Linked DNA regions of Homo sapiens: region 2 is linked to region 1. The links are contacts of gene promoters, found by promoter capture Hi-C in human tissues and cell types (Jung and others, 2019). All regions are on one chromosome and are shown on one strand. The core of a region is centred on a gene start or on the middle of the fragment in contact, and the rest is flanking DNA. Distances in the headings are between cores, read along the strand shown. Region 1 holds the start of SSBP1 (single stranded DNA binding protein 1). Region 2 overlaps MKRN1 (makorin ring finger protein 1).

Region 1 (2,700 bases), core at 201-2,700:
TGTGTGTTTATGTCTTAGTTTTTTTAAAAAATGGCTAAAAAGTTAAAAAAAAAAAGAAAAAAAGCAAAGGTAGAAAAAAGCTTGTAGAATAAGGATATAAGAAAAATATTTTTGTACAGTGGTACAGTGTGTGTTTTAAGCTAATTGTTATTACAAAACAGTTAAAACGTAAAAAAATTTGGAAGATTTATAAAGTTATAGTGAGTGAAAGTTTATTAAAGGAAGAAAAGTATTTTTTATAAACTGAGTGTAGCCTAAGTGTACAGTGTTTATGAAGTGTTTAGTGGGTACAATAATGTCCTAGACCTTCATGTTGGGCCACCACTCACTCATTTACTCACCCACAGCAACTTCCAGTTCCGCAAGCTCCATTCATGGTAAGCGCCCCATACAGGTGTGCCATTTTTATCTTTTATACCGCATTTGTACTGTACCTTTTCCATGTTTACATATGTTTAGACACACAGATACTTACCATGAATTACAATGGTCTGCGGTATTCAGTACAGCCCCATGCTGTCAGGTTTGCAGCCTGGAAGCAGCAGGCCACACCACAGAGCCGAGGTGTGTCCAGGCTCCACCATCTAGGTCGTCAAAGTACATTCTGTGGTGTTCGTACAGCAACAAAATCGCCTAATGACGCAATCCTCAGACCTTACCCTGTTGTTAAGGTACACATGACTCTTATTTTGTTCCTCCCGGATTTCCTGCATTAATTTTTACTTTTTAAAATATTACATTAATATATTATTTGATTGCCAGTTTTTCTGGTGCTCCCTTAAATTGCACAGCCTGCCAGCCCTTCCCTGGCTCCCCTTTCTTTTTCTGCTTTTCTTAGTGCTTCAACAGACCTGGGACGTTCTTTTTCTTTCTTTTTTTTTTTAATTTTCTTCTTTTTTTCTTTTTCTTGTTTTGTTTTGTTTTGTTTTGAGATAGAGTTCGCTCTGTTGCCCAGGCTGGAATGCAGTGGTGCGTTCACGGCTCAATGCAGCAACGACCTCCAGGGCTCAGGCGATCCCCCGACCTCAGCCTCCGGAGAAGCTTGGACCACAGGCGCGCGCCACCACGCCCAGCTAATTATATATTTTTTGTAGAGACAGGTCTCACTATGTCGCCTAGGCTGGTCACAAATGTTGCTTTTTTTTCCCTCCAGGCAGAGCTAGTCTCTGTTTTGCCTACCTCGCCCCCTCCTGGGCCCAGTTAGAAACCTCATCACATAATTTCATTTCTTTCCAAACTTGAAACCTTCTAAACTTGAAACCTTCTAAACTTGAAACCTTCCAAACTCACCACTTGGCGGCGTTGATCCATCCGCCCGCGCACAAAGAGAAGATCGCGGAACTTCAGAGTTAAGGGGAGCCGTTTCCCGCAGCGCTAGCCGGCAGTATTTCCAAGGCGCAAGTTGCGGAGTTTCTGTTTCCTTTTTCCTCTGGCGAGCTTTGCGTTCCCTGTGCGCCGGAAGTGATCCCCTGCGTGGCTGGGCTGCTCGGGTTAGATCGTCAGGTGAGGGAGGAAGGGATAGCCAGCGCGAAGGAAGTGCTGGAGTCGTGTGTTTTGGCTGCGCGTGATCCTGCGTGGGTCGGGAGGTGTTTCTGTGTAGGTGTCTGGCCCTTTCATCAGTCGTGCGGAGGACCGCGTGATTTCCTTCCAGTTCTCCTCGGTTTTCAGGTGGTGGCGCCATCTTCGGTAAAGGGTGTCCACCTCTCCCTATGGTGTGGCTGGCTAGCCCGGGGGTCTCTACGCTGCTTGGTCTTTGTTAACGGAGATGAAGGCAGTAATTTTTCAGTAACAGGTTTCAGATATAAGTCCCTTGGTGATGCTAATATTTATGGAGGCCTTACTATGCATTAAGAACTTTTTTAGAAGTTTAGAAAATGGCAGTGAATAAAGCAGATACAAATCTCTGCTCTAAGGGAGCTTGCATAGTAATGAAATTTGAGAAGACAGTGGATTGGAAGTGGGATTAACTCAGAATCAAAATTTTGTCGATGGGTTGGAGGAAGAGGAAGTTATTTGGGACCAAAAAGACATACAGGTGTGAGTTTATTTGGGAGGGAGGAAGGAATCCTCATCAGATGTGCAGGAATGTTGGTACGTTGTGGTCACAAAATTGGAGTGCATAAAAATTATGAATATAGTTAGGAATTTAGGACTGGTGAGTTGTACTTTTGCCATAAGAGGTAATGTTTTTTTCTTATTTTGTTTTTTTCCTTCAGGAAAAGCCTAAAGATTAGACTGTAAGAAAAGAAAATAGAAGCCATGTTTCGAAGACCTGTATTACAGGTAGTCACTTGTCTGTATTAATACTGAGATGTATTACTATCAGCCACAGTGATCAGAAGACTTCTTTAGGCTTTTAACTACAGGGGCAAAAGACCTTTGAGCTCACCCACCCACCTCTATACTCATTTGATATGGAGGATTGGGGACGATTTTGCCAGTGTAAATTATGTTCACTAAAACAAAAAAAAAGTTCAGGTTTATTCACACGTAATAGGAATCATTAATTTTTAAAATGTGTGTGTGTTGCTTGAATTTAACCAGTGAGAGGACATTAAAGGTCTTTAGTGACCTAAAGACTGTAGGAATCATTGTTCCAACTTTTTTCTTAAGGCATGTAGTTGCTTTTTTGACCATCTACCTCCTGTGTTGCTAAACGTTCCTCTTCCCCCATCTTTCCACACTGAAGAGAGCATCTCA
Region 2 (2,700 bases), core at 162-2,661, 1.3 Mb before region 1:
AGGCATCTTAACAACCTCTTTAGGAATTTCTACAAATTATAGAATAGATAAGGCATTTAATCAATTCATCTGCAGTGACACTTCTTACTTTGATATTTAACTTTTAATGAGTGAGTATACCATTTATCAAACTAGATTATAAATTCCTGATGGGTAAAGACTGGTTTATTCCCCTTTTTATCTCCAACTATCTGTGCACATAATATATACTTGTTAGAAAAAGGTAGAAAGCCGGGTTCGGTGGCTCATGCCTGTAATCCCAGCACTTTGGGAGGCCAAGGCGGGTGGATTACCTGAGGTTGGGAGTTTGAGACCAGCCTGACCAACATGGTGAAAGCGGTACCTACTAAAAATACAAAAATTAGCCGAGTGTGATGGTACAAGCCTGTAATCCCAGCTACTCTGGAGGCTGAGAGAGGAAAATCGCTGGAACCCAGGAGATGGCGATTGCACCGAGCCAAGATTGTATCACTGCACTCTAGCCTGGGCAACAACAGCGAAACTCCGTCTCAAAAAAAAAAAAAAAAGAAAGAAAGAAAGAAAGAAAGAAAGAAAGAAAGAAAGAAAGAAAGAAAGAAAGAAAGAATAAAAGACTGTAGGGTGGGCCCGGTGGCTCACACCTACAATCCCAGCACTTTGGGAGGCAGAGGCAGGTGGATCACCTGAGGTCAGGTGTTCAAAACCAGCATGGCCAACATGGTGAAACCCACTATCTACCAAAAATACAAAAATTAGGCCAGGTGCGGTGGCTCACACCTGTAATCCCAGCACTTTGGGAGGCTGAGGCAGGTGGATCATGAGGTCAGGAGCTCAAGACCATCCTGGCTAACACAGTGAAACCCTGTTTCTACTAAAAATACAAAAAAAACAAACAATTAGCCAGGCATGGTGGCACACACCTGTAGTCCCAGCTACTTGGGAGGCTGAGGCAGAATTGCTTGAACTCGCAGTGGGTTGGGGGGGGCCCAGAGGTTGCAGTGAACCAGGATCACGCCACTGAGACTCCGTCTCAAAAAAAAAATAAATAAATAAAAGGCTGTAGAAGACAGCTAGATGTGATGGTGAATCATGGTAGCGATAGCAAATTAATTTTTCTTTCCCAGTTGCATAATCTTTTTAATACCATTTAATATTTATTACTTATTTCCTCTCACAACCACTATGTAGTTTCCAAGTAATAAATTTCACTATGGACGTCACAGCACTCAGATAAAGAATTTCTGAAGGATTTCCTTCTTTCTTTTTTTTTTTTTTTGAGACGAAATCTCACTCTGTCACCCAGGCTGGAGTGCAGTGGTGCAATCTTGGCTCACTGCAGCCTCTGCCTCTTGGGATCAAGTGATTCTCCCACCTCAGCCTCCAGAGTGGCTGGGATTACAGGTGCCCGCCACCACGCCCAGCTAATTTTTGTATTTTTAGTAGAGAACGGGTTTCGTCATGTTGGCCAGGCTGGTCTCGAACTCCTGACCTCAAGTGATCCACCTGCCTTGGCCTCCCAAAGTACTAGAATTACAGGGGTGAGACACCACGCCCAGCTGATCTTTAAGTTACGTTAACCACATTTTTAAAAACTTTTGAGGCCAGGTACGGGGGCTCATGCCTGTAATCCCAGGACTTCGGGAGGCCAAGGTGGGTGGATCACCTGAGGTCAGGAGTTCAAGACCAGCCTGGGCAACATGGTGAAACCCCATCTCTACTAAACGTACAAATAATTAGCCGAGTGTGATGGCACGTGCCTGTAATCCCAGCTTCTCGGAAGGCTGAGGCACCAGAATTCCTTGAACCCAGGAGGCAGAGGTTGTAGTGAGCCGAGATCGTGCCACTGCACTCCAGCTTGGGCGACACAGACTCCATCTCAGAAAACAAACAAACAAACAAACAAAACACAACTTTCAAGGCCAAGCATGGTGGCTCACACCTGTAATCCCAGCACTTTAGGAGGCCGAGGCGGGTGAAACACTTGAGCTTAGGAGTTCAAGACCAGCCTAGGCAACAGGGTGAAACCCTGTCTCTATCAAAAATGCAAAAAAAAATTAGCCTGGGGTGGTGGCACGTGCCTGTAATTCCAGCTACTGGGGAGGTTCAAGCAGGAGGATTGCTTGAGCCTGGGAGGTGGAGGCTGCAATGAGCCAAGACACTGCCACTGCATTCCAGCCTAGGGGACAGAGCGAGACCCTATCTCAAAAAATACAAATAAATACAAATAAAAATCAAGAAAAGAGTTTTTTGAAAAATTAAAAATTAAACACTTGTTTTTTTGTGTATTATTTCAACTACCAGAACACTTATCTGCCATTATAGAAGCACTCTAATAAAGAGGGGTCTAAATTCAAATTACAACTTCTCTTTAAGTATTAACTGTTCTAACCTCACACACTCAAGGTAACTCAAGGTAGCAGATGCAATGAGCATTTCTGTTTCTTAGTATTGCTCTAATAAAAGATATGAAAAACAGCCTGGTGGTGGCAGCATAACACAGTTTCTGAGGAAAGGTATAAAACACAATGAAAACCCCAGGAGAAACATTAGAAAAAATGTAACCAGTAGGAAAATACAGGTGATTCCGAGCAATTAAAAACATTCTAATCAAAACTTCTAAGTGAAGAAAATAGCTTTAGTCAAATTCCTAGATACAGGAGTGATGTGCTATAGGGAGAAATGAGCACAAACACTAAAACACACCTCTACCTGATTCTTTAG

Evidence for each region. The method cuts DNA at HindIII sites, captures the fragments that hold promoters and counts their contacts. A contact is called where the count stands out against the background at its distance.
Region 2: a fragment that was not itself captured here is called in contact with the fragment with the promoter of SSBP1 in region 1 in 1 of the 25 tissues and cell types used here (adrenal gland).

The regions. Positions count from the first base shown.
Region 1 is chr7:141,736,908-141,739,607 of GRCh38, forward strand. It overlaps SSBP1 (single stranded DNA binding protein 1), which reads left to right and starts at 1,451. Exons shown (of 7, transcript NM_003143.3): 1 at 1,451-1,503; 2 at 2,217-2,283. The coding sequence starts at 2,260. WEE2-AS1 (WEE2 antisense RNA 1) reads right to left here and starts at 1,135. Exons shown (of 4, transcript NR_199841.1): 1 at 476-1,135. RefSeq lists an enhancer at 468-1,353. The HindIII fragment of the contact is 9,000 bases long and covers 561-2,700 here.
Region 2 is chr7:140,473,482-140,476,181 of GRCh38, forward strand. The region is part of intron 1 of MKRN1 (makorin ring finger protein 1); the gene reads right to left. Among named protein-coding and RNA genes, the nearest start is that of MKRN1, 4.7 kb to the right of the region's middle. The HindIII fragment of the contact is 7,012 bases long and covers 1-2,700 here.